Regions from separate parts of the Homo sapiens genome. Here region 2 is linked to region 1. Evidence: promoter capture Hi-C in 16 types of primary human blood cells and fetal thymus (Javierre and others, 2016). All regions are on one chromosome and are shown on one strand. The core of a region is centred on a gene start or on the middle of the fragment in contact, and the rest is flanking DNA. Distances in the headings are between cores, read along the strand shown.

What was found. Contacts are between HindIII fragments. The CHiCAGO score rates a contact against its expected background, and 5 or more counts as called.
Region 2: a fragment that was not itself captured here is called in contact with the fragment with the promoter of GK in region 1 in 1 of 17 cell types (total B cells); the score reaches 5.1 in total B cells.

What each region holds. Positions count from the first base shown.
Region 1 is chrX:30,651,187-30,656,640 of GRCh38, reverse strand. GK (glycerol kinase) reads right to left here and starts at 3,218. Exons shown (of 21, transcript NM_001205019.2): 1 at 3,026-3,218. The coding sequence starts at 3,103. RefSeq lists a silencer at 3,129-3,548. The HindIII fragment of the contact is 2,269 bases long and covers 1,574-3,842 here.
Region 2 is chrX:31,236,183-31,241,636 of GRCh38, reverse strand. All of the region lies in intron 63 of DMD (dystrophin), which reads left to right. Among named protein-coding and RNA genes, the nearest start is that of FTHL17, 170 kb to the right of the region's middle. RefSeq lists an enhancer at 5,185-5,254. The HindIII fragment of the contact is 1,966 bases long and covers 1,591-3,556 here.

The DNA.
Region 1 (5,454 bases), core at 1,969-4,468:
TTAATAGAAGTATTTTTAAAAGTGCTGTAGGAAGGGGGGGGAATTCTGAATAACGGTTTGAGGAAGACTTACACTAAAAGGTGGCAGTTGAGCCACTATTTAGAGGTAGAGAAGCGGATATGTGGGATAGAGGTGGAGGCATTTCCCTGGGATGAAAGAGCACAGATAAAGCCTTTTCTCCTTATGGGAGAAAGCTAATATTGCTAACAGAGAAAAAAGAAGAAGAAAGCTTGCAGAGATTATTGGTCTCAGGAAAGTCAAGTTAAATATGCAAATTTAATGAATAATAGGAAATTACTTAAATATCTTTAATTTTATAAGCTTCCTTATGACAGTTCTTATCCACTGTATTCTTTCCTGAGAGGTAAGCAATTATTTTTCAGTCATAATTACAACGTGGAGTAATATGACTGGAATAACTCCCGGGAATCATCTTGTGATTGAAGCACTTATTCAGCAAATCTTTTATCTGCATTTTGCAGGGAGTGGTTTAGCAATCTCTCTCCTTATAAACAAAGGAAAAAACACCTTGCTAAACCATTCCTAAGTTTTTCACTACTTCACACAGGATCTCTACGGTTTTTTTATTTGCCTCTAGAGCATGCTTTCATAGTTGTTTCTCAAGGAGAGGACAATTTTACTGATCAACTTTTATAAAATCATTCTCTAAGCAGGATAAGAATCTTCTGAATTTGCATCTTAGCTTACATGCAATGAGACGAGGCCTCACAGAACCCAGTAAACAGGAGCCAATTTTTGAAGGCTCATGTTGTTCATGTTACAGACTGAACAATTAATTGTGGTAATATGAAGTTGATCAAGTTCTTCTTCATTGATGTAGAAAGATGTCTTTTAGGCAACAAAACCTGAGGGACCAAGAACAACCTGTAGTGAATAAAGAAGATTGCTGGGCTACATGGACAGCAATAATGAACAGTCAAAAAGAAGGCATGGACAGTTCAAGCTGACTCCTAAAGGAAGCCTACAAAGTTATGAAATATTTTACCCATTTTCATATTGAGCAAAGGCTGTATAAACTTGAGAACATCTGCCATGCTTGGTTTGGCCCCCACAGTGCTTTATAAACTAATTGCCAACATTTAAGAATTGAAAGATTTCATTGAAAACTCTAGACTACCTGCTTTTAATCTGACGATCTGGCAGCACTGGGCTTGTGTTCCTGCTTGGCAGCTACTAGCTGTCCCCTTGACCTGGATATCTCTCTAGTCTGCCTTCCCCCTTCTACCTGCCTGGTCCCTGCAGGCATTTGTGTGGGCAATTCTTGAATATGGCTTTAAACATCAACCCACAGTTAGTTGGCACATGTCTTAATGGTCTTTCTTAAGTTGGGAAGATGATGATCGTGTATATTATGTATTAATCAAATCCAGTTAAGCAAACTTTCTTATGATTCAGGATTACTCTATAAACATTTCTATGAATATAAGACAAAGTGAAACCTGCCCTGGGTGATCAAAAGATAAACAGTGCAAGAGACAGTGGAACTATGCTTGGCAGCTCAAACCAGGGTAAGTCATTAAATAAGATTCAAACCAAAATTAGACTGAAAGCTTCTCACTTTAGACAAAAAAAGATATGTCAGGATCAAAGCACAAATGCAGTTTTTAGTCAAGTGCCAGCTCTGACAGAACTTTGAAAAAATATATACATTGTATGTATAATGCCTATGTATAAATATACACATATGTGTATATATGTACAGATATATACATACTAAATAACACAGGAAAACATGATTTGCGGTAAAGTGAAGAGCTAAATAATCATTAAATATTTACATCAACTTGCCAAGTTAGTCAAATATCCATTGAAAGCATGGGCTTTTATCAGCAGGCATTCATTTCAATTACTTTTATTTATTTTTTATTTATTTTTATTTTTTTGAGACAGAGTCTCGCTCTGTTGGCTAGGCTGGATTGCCCAGGCTGGAGTGCAGTGGTGTGATCTCTGCTCACTGCAACCTCCGCCTCCCGGGTCCAAGTGATTCTCCTGCCTCAGCCTCCCGGGTAAGTAGGATTACAGGCGCCCGCCACCACGCCCAGCTAATTTTTGTTATGCCAGGTTGGCCAGGCTGGTCTCGAACTCCTGACCTTAGGTAATCCACCCGCCTCAGCCTCCCAAACTGTTGGGATTACACGTGTAAGCCACCGCGCCCGGCCTCAATTACTTTTAAATTATCTTACTGAACTCTGTGCTAGGTCACTTTAAGAGCAAGTTTACTAATTGCACAAAAATTAATCAGCAGTCACTTAAATAGCAATCTTTTGTGGTAAAACTGTGCTGTCACACATGGTAAATAAAAAGAGAAACAGAATTTCCGTGTCGCATTATGCTGTGAAGCACAGTAAGGACAATCATTTGTTTGTAATGGGCAAAGTCTCAGAACTGAAATTTGCGAGTCTTCGGAATTAAATAAAGATTATGGCAAAACCAGTGTAGTGTGACTGTTTCCTAATTTGTTCTGCCACCCTCCCCAGTATTCAACCCTCTGCAATTTTTATGGGAGAGGATGACAACGCATCATCACTCCAATACTTTATTCGTTCTACTGCTGGAAAGGACGCTGTGTTAGCTACCACAGCCGTGACACAGCTTTCCCCCCATCCAAGGACGTCCTGTGTCTCGCAGGCCAAATGTTCCTGGGGAAGACCGCGGTAGCCGTCAATGTGGCCACCTGTCCCCTACTGCAAGCGGGCCGCTCTGCGCGGATGCTCGGAGAGTCCCTGCTCCCTTTGGGGGAAGAGTCACCCCATTAGTAGGTGACCCAGCTCCGCCACCAAAACTGCGACTGTTCAACTCGGCCATGGGGGTCATGAGAGGCCGAGGTCCCCCAGGCCTGGCTGGGGCATCCCCAGTGTGGCAGGTCCCGTTCCGGCCTCCCTCCTTGCCCAGCGGCCGGGGCACCGGGCCGGAGAGATGCGGGATGGGGACACAACAGCCACCCCCTCCGTCCCCCGACTCCCGCCCCGGCTCAGCGCCTCTTCACATGTCACCCCGGGCTCACCAAAAAGCGCGTCGAACTGGTGCCCTGGTCCACCGCCCCCACCAATGGCCCCAAAACTGCCTTCTTTGAGGCTGCCATGAAACCAGCTTCAGGTCGGCCGGCGATTGCGGCCGGTTTCCTGGGTGACGGCGGCGGGAGGGGGAGGGGCAGGTGACGAGTCCAGAGATCGAGGCCGCGCGCGTCCGCTGAACGCTCGGACCGCGCTCGAGGCGGCCCCTTTACCCGCGCGCAGCCTTCTCACCCCGCCCCTCCGGCCCAGGCCCCGCCCCCCACCGCGTACCCCCAAGGCTCCAGGGGCGTGTCAGGGGGGGTGGGGGTGGGCGCTGTCACCTGGGCTGGCCAATCAGCAAACGCAAAAGAGCCGAACGCTCGGACAGGCAGAGGGCGATGAGACGTCACGGGGGCGGGGCCTGGGCGCGGTGGAGGCGGCGGCCCGCGCAGTAGGTCACGTGGGGGCCCGGCGAGCGGACAGCAGAGCCATCCAGCTGCATGGCATGGGGCGGAGACGAGTACTGCCCTTTGGCAGGCAGCGCTCCTGGCCGGCGAAAAGAGCGCACTTCCACTAGTGTCCTGGGGCTCGCCTCCATAGGGGTCTCAAAGTGTGTAGAACTGCTTGTTCCCTCCAGTGGGCTGTGCAGAGTCGTGCAGCGACGTGAGTCGCTGTGTGGACCTACCCGGCCCGGCCTTCCCGCGTTTCCCACGCCCCGCCCACCTCCCTGCATCTGGCCCCTGGTAATCGTAATCATTCCTTTGGCTGGGATTGACCCCATATAGGGTCACCTCAAGGAGCAACGCGAATCCTTCACCGTTGCAAGCTTTTCAGGGACAAGAAACGCGGAAGTTCTTTCGGTTTAGCATTTAAGGAAAGCACCCAAAATCAACCTCCCCAAGTTCCTCTATCGACCATTCAGGCAGAAGGCGCCCGGCACCACTCCGTCCTGACGCGCCCTTGCTCCTCGTTTGGCCTCACTCTGCGGTCCCCTCCCCCACACGCCATTTCCTCTCCCTCCATTAACTGCTTTGGATGGCAGGGGACAGAAAAGGGACTCTCCCTTGACCTTGAATTTACCTTGCCCGGATCCTTCTGGATCCTGTGTTCTAAGGGCTTTCAAACTTGGAACCAAGACCCACACTGTGAAACAGTTTACAAAACAAACCCAGGCTCCAGTGTGTGTGGGCGGGGAGCACATTTGTAGTTACAATTGTTACACATGTAAATACATGTTATATACATCTAATATACATTTATGTATGTATAGAAAAACTTTCCAAAACAATATTTGTCCTTCCACAGTATGCATTCTGTATTTTTATTCTATGGCATATCATTTTTTTTTAATGCTGATTGAAAATCACTAAATTGCTTTTGTAACCCACCATGCTCTCTATCAATTTTAAAAGCACTCCGCTATACCCACTGTCATTTCTTTCCATCCCTTTCCCAAATCTCTGTGTTCTGGAACATCATTTCTTTTCCTTTTTTTTTTTTTTCCTTTCTTACCTTGCTCTACACCACGTCACTTGTCCATCTCTGTTTGTATAGTTTTACCACACATGATCTGAAAGCAAATTTTCCTAAACACCGTCTAGACCTCACATTCTAATGTTCCAGATGAAGCCTGCTTATGGACATACTAGATTTAATAACTATCGATAAACTGGCTTGCTTTAATATAAGAGTGAAGATGAGTCAGTATCTCTGAATTTCCTGGAAGAGGAAAAGAGGGAGACAGGCATATAAGCAAGGAACCAGGCCAACTTGCCTCTAAAAACAGTGAAAGGCATTAGTTGAGTGAATGATATAGAAAAGGATTTTCTTGGTTCTAGAAGGCAGTAAAAACAAAGCCACCAAACCTACCACATCGATCCATTAAAAAAAAAAAATCCCTGACCACGTTTGAACTTTCACATACTTTTGACTCTCAGATTCCAACAGGACAGCAAATTATTTGTTTGGCAGCACAATGGGATCAGAATTCAGACATTTCAGAATAAGTTGGGCTAGATGTACATGGGGGATTCTTAAATTTGTTGATCCTATGGTTCCTACAACAATGTGTATTCCACATCCTCATTCCTTTCACCAAAACAAAACTGAAAAGCCAAAATATTGGCCTTTCAGGCGTCACATCTCAGCACCCTGTTAGAGATGAGGTAAAGATAAGGGGAAAGGTGTTAGATGGAAGAGTTGAGCTCAGCCTATCTTAAATATTTACTGTGAACTTTTTTTTTTTTTTTTTTTTTTTTTTTGAGTTGGAGTCTTGCTCTTTCGCCCAGGCTGGAGTGCAGTGGTGCAATCTTGGCTCACTGCAACCTCCACCTGCCTGGTTCAAGCAATTCCCCTGCGTCAGCCTCCCAAGTAGCTGGGACTACAGGCCCGCGCCACCATGCCCGGCTAATTTGTTGTATTTTTAGTAGAGATGGGGTTT
Region 2 (5,454 bases), core at 1,324-3,823, 590 kb before region 1:
TTGGACAGGTTTTAAAGAAAAAGGGAGTTATATGTCTTCAAAATTTGAAGGCGTGGTGACACAGAGAATGGTGATACCATTGAGGAAAAGAGGAAATTGCAAACTGAGCGGAGCAACAGGGAATAGATATGAATTTGATTGAATTACATACTTATGGGTTTATTTACAATTTCTCTTCTTAGAAAAATTTATTTTTGGTGGCTCATATAAATGTATGTGCTGCCATACCATAAGCATATATTTCTCATTAATCCTTTCAAAAACCCTGTAAAAGATATTTGTATCTCCATTGTGCAGATGAGGCTCAGAGAAAATAGGTAATTTTCTCACATTGCAAAGCAGGGATTTACGTGTACTTTTAACTCCTAAACCAGCGATTTAGCCCCTCAGCTATACTTTCTTCCTGAGAGGGGACAGTGGCATTTTGAAGAGGAAATACTCTAAAGCCATTTGAAAAGGGGAACCGAAGAAAGAGTTTGGTCCACAGCATGATAAAAATATTACTTGCACTTTTATTATACTTTATAACAAGAAGTACAGGGGCAGAGAAAGGTTCCTAACTTTTACTGAGCAAGTATATATCCAAGATACATCTCCTCTTTGGAGCTTTTGAGATACACTATCTCTCTTAGTTTTGCAACAGCCCTAGGAATAGGTACTATTACTGTTCCCTTTAAAAATGAACAAAAAAAAAATGAAGCTTAGGAAAGTTAAGGTTACTAGACCAAGCTTATTGGGAGACCATAGTGATGAAGAGGAAGGGCTTTAGGGTCAAATGGATTTGAATTTTACTTCTTAGGCCTTTGGTTTCCTTATTTATAAAATGGGATTGAAATAATGATATCACAGTTGAAGGTAATTATATGAGAATTTATGTTATTTATTGCAAACATAGGGTAAGCACCTAATAAATGATAACCTGAGAATTTATGTTATTTATTGCAAACATAGGGTAAGCACCTAATAAATGATAACCATTATTACTATTATTTTACAGCAAAGACATAAATAGAGCCCATTAAGTTTTCTTCTCTACCCAGTAGTTTTTCCATTGTACAATAGTACTCTCCTGAAGGACAGCGGGTGAAGCTAAGAATTTGGAAGAAATCCCAGATAGAGAAATCTTGAAAAGAAGATAGATAGATTTAATACTCAATCATTAAAAAAAGTGCACATGACTTTAAGAAATCAAACATTGTAAGAGGATAGTATTGAAAAGTAAGTCTCCAACCACTCTTGGTATCAATCCCCTAATTTTACTTCCTAGAGACAATTAACAGTATAGTTTTTATGTTTGCTTCTGTAAATATTTTTGCATATACAAACATACACATAAAAATATGCCCATTTTTGCACATTGAGAGTATAATAGGCACAATGTTCTGTTCTTTGATGCTATTACCTTTTACATAATTAACCTGGAGTTTTTTTTTTCCTGTAGCGCAATAGACTGACAGATGGTGAATGAAAACTTGCACTATGGAGAGTTATGTCAGTGTTTTAATAAGACAGGAACCCAGAAATAAATGTACGAAGTTTAACATCAGCATCTCGTGGCCTTTAAGTCAAATTGGACAACCATTCAAAGCTTCATAAATGCTAACTGCTTCTCATGACTTCAGAAGCAAACAAAAAAATCATTATTCAAATGGGAAATTAAGCTGATCATCAGAAGTACAGAGAGGATGTCCTTTCTTAAAGGCGGCACGTCTAAGGGAGTGTCTGAGACCTGGCTTCTTCATTCAGGATGGAGGCTGCTGCTACTCTTTAAAAGAAATGTTCACATCCTTACTTCCTGACTTCCTTCTATAACACAGTCTGCTTCACAACACTATGACTTTATATGTCAGAGCGGGTTAGGAGGAGCTGAATCTTAAAAATTTAAGAAGATGCCAAGGTCTAGAAACCACTCTTAACAGGGGAAAATTAGACCCTGCTTGCTTTTGGGAAAATTTGTTTTCCAGTCAGATGTTTGTCAAGGTTAAAGAAATTCACGGGCCCTCTGTTCGAATTGGGAGCAATTGGGAGCCCTTAAGCTGAATGAGTAGACTTGAAGTCCCACTTAGAATGAGCCTTTATATTTTTGTTCTGTGGCTTGCTCAGGGAAGGGATACACACTTGGGGAGAAAAAGACTTGGATTCTAGTTGATGTTTTTCTCCTAGCTGACTAGGGAATTCAGAACAAGTTACTAAGAGCTTTCTAGTCCTTAGTTCTCTCATTTGGAAAATGAAAATTTTAAATTAGAGATTCTATTTCTAAGGCACCATGTATTTCATTTTCTTAATAAAAAGTATATATATTCCCCTAAAGAATACTCATAAGAAAAAGGTAGAGTTAAAATTTCCCAAATTATTTAATTCCTGGTTGCCCAGTAACCATTAAATTTCTCAGCAGTCAGGCAAGAACCACATTCCCACCTTGAGACAAGATTTAGGCCTTTCCAAACTTACCCTCGGGCTCTGTTCCAAGTTTATTTGTAAGTCAGTTGCATACAATTTGGAATGAAATGTGTTATAAATGGTGGTTAGGTCCCTAAGTCACAGAATCTTAGTTAACCCTCAGAGTGCCTGATATACTGCACCATGTAAATAGAAAGCAGCTGTATGTTTCTATGGGAGCAAAAAACTTTTGTAGGAAAAATGGTAGAAACTCGTACTGCAGGTGTTGATTATTCAGCAAACTTCTCTAGATAAGGAGGACTGGGAACTTCATCATTATTGGTCTAGTTACATTCCTGGTCACTCCCTCATCCCATTGACTGGTCAGTTTCCCTCCCTGTGGTCCTTGTGCAAGGGTTTCTGCCTCACCCCATACCCTCTGCTCCTTGCCCGGTATCATGGTTCTTCTGAGGGTACTACTGCCCATTCACCCTTGTGCTAATTAGGATTACACTGGGTAAGGAAAGACATTTGTTCTGTAGCGGAGAAGCGGGGAAGGCCATCAGAGGCTTTGAGTGTCAGAAAGATTTGGTCTTGAATGCAGGCTCTGGGATGCAACCGTAGGGAAGTTACCAAACATTTGTGAGCCTCATTTTATCTTTAACAAAGCTGATAATACAGAACTCAGGGCCTTGTAAGGACTCGATGGTATCAGGTACACACGACATTTGCCCTTGAGTGCTCAGCGAATGTTAGTATTCCTTCTGCCATCGGCCTGTCACTTCCGTTTTTCTCTTTGGCTCTACAGGGAATACTTGCATACAAAAAGAGCTGAAGTAAGAGTCACCTACATCTTAGGAAAAAAGGGCTGCTTTAGGTTTATCCTCAAGTAGTTTTGTCCAGGATTCTGAGGAGAATAAAAGCTGGGTCAGATCCAGTGTGTTGAAAAGAAAGCTGAGGTGAGAAGTGAGAGAAACAGAGAGGCAGAGAAAGGGGGAATGAGCCCTGTCTGCTATGAAGTAGGAGGCAATCCAAAAGACAAGGAATCCGTGGTCATTGCCACTGAGAGGAGAAAGAAGGCAAACTCACTCCTGTGACTTCAGGGCCATCCATGAGGTGGGCAGAGGAACTCAGAGTCTGCCCGATTCTTGGATTGAATCTTCAAATTGGTAAAGCTTTATATCAAGCAACTCCCAAATGCAGCATAGTTTTGAGGTGATAAAGAAGAGTCTTTTCAAGGCTGGGCACAATAGTTCACGCCTGTAATCTCAGCACTTTGGGAGGCCAAGGCAGGCAGATCACTTGAGGTCGGGAGTTCGAGACCAGCCTGGCCAGCATGGTGAAACCTCATCTCTACTAAAAATATGAAAATTAGCTGGGCGTGGTGGTGGGCACCTGTAATACCAGCTACTTGGGAGGCTGAGGCACAAGCATCACTTGAACCCAGGAGGCAGAGGTTGCAGTGAGCCGAGATCATGCCACTGCATTCCAGCCTGGGCGAGAGAATGAGACTCCGTCTAAAAAAAATAAAAATAAAATAAAAAGAGTATTTTCCCGGAGTACCGGTAATATTGGTTCCAGATTCAAATGTATTGTCCAGATACACAGAGGGTAAACAGGAACGCTTCAGGCATCCTTTATTAAAAGCACCTCAGTCTATGTCAGAGGGCCAGGCAGTCCATTATCTAATGAAAATCTCCTACCATTGATTTATTTTATCATAACTGCAGCTGCTAAGTAATTTTGTTTAAGGAATGATTTACATATTAGTGTCTTCAGCAGGATCTCATCATTAGCATCTAGTCTCCAGAAAAGTTAACACATAACAGTGAAAAGAAAACATTCTCTATCACATGCTTCTGCATGCATGGGCAATTTGAGTCATACCACCTGTTCCCCTCTTCTGTTATGCTAGAGTATACAAAAAGCAGAGATACGCATAGTTTACTATGATCCTAGATGCTTAAATATCTTGAATTGTGTTCTATCTTGGACTCATTATTCATGCATAAAGACTCAACAGATTCTCTTCTTGCACCTCTCAAACAGCAACATCAACAAAACCCAAACAATGTATCTTTCCTAATGAGGTGAAAGCATGCATACCAGCCTAAGACAGAAATGTTGCAAAAATGTTTTTTGCAAGAAGGTCAGTTTGCTTTTCCCATGGTAACTAAGGTTAATTTCTACTGTGGTTCATTTTGGCATCCATTTTATTCATGATGATTATTAGAGGGCATGGATATTGGGGGTGTGTTGATGTTGGGCACCAGAGAAATGGAAAGAGGCAGATGGAGGATGCAAATCATTTTCACTCAGAACCTAAAATGTTTACTGTTAGATAAAGGGTAGAGAAGAATCTTAATTTGACTGTCAAAACATATGATTAGTTGAAGTTACCAAAACTATTTTTTTAAATAACATTTATCTTAAGAGCTATAAATAAAGAGGAAATTTTGCACTAGAGATGAAGTTATGAACATTTCATTAACTCTAAAGAGTTAATGAAAAACTAGTTGATTATATGTGTTCATTTATAGGTTGACACGTGAATTTCCAGAGAAGTAACTTGTATGTTTTTAAATTCCAATCCTTATCTTACATCTGGGCAGAATCAGACTTGTGAACGTCCCATTCCAAACAAATGGCTAAACACTTTGCAGACTTTGTCTAGAAGAGTGCCTTACCCATATAAGCCCTCTGTTATAAAATTGTTTTAAACGTTAAATTAGCTGTCAAGCTGTTCTGCATCAGTGGCACCACCTGGTAGCAAGGATGGAGATCTCTGCCACCCAAGATCTCTTTAGTGCTCACGTCATTTCTCCACCGCAAGGAGGATTGCGGGGGTGGACGATGCTCCCTATTTAGTCTTCTGCATTTTGTTGCTTACAGTTCAATTAACATGTCAGTTAGAGATGACTTTTGGTTGCAGTTAATAAAATATCTGACCAATTGTATCTTAAACACAGAGGAGTTGATATTTTTTGTAGAACAAGAAGTCTGGAGGCAGGTAGTTGAGAGCTATGGAAGAGTTCCGTGATGTCATCAGAGACCTGGGCCATGGTTTATTCTGCT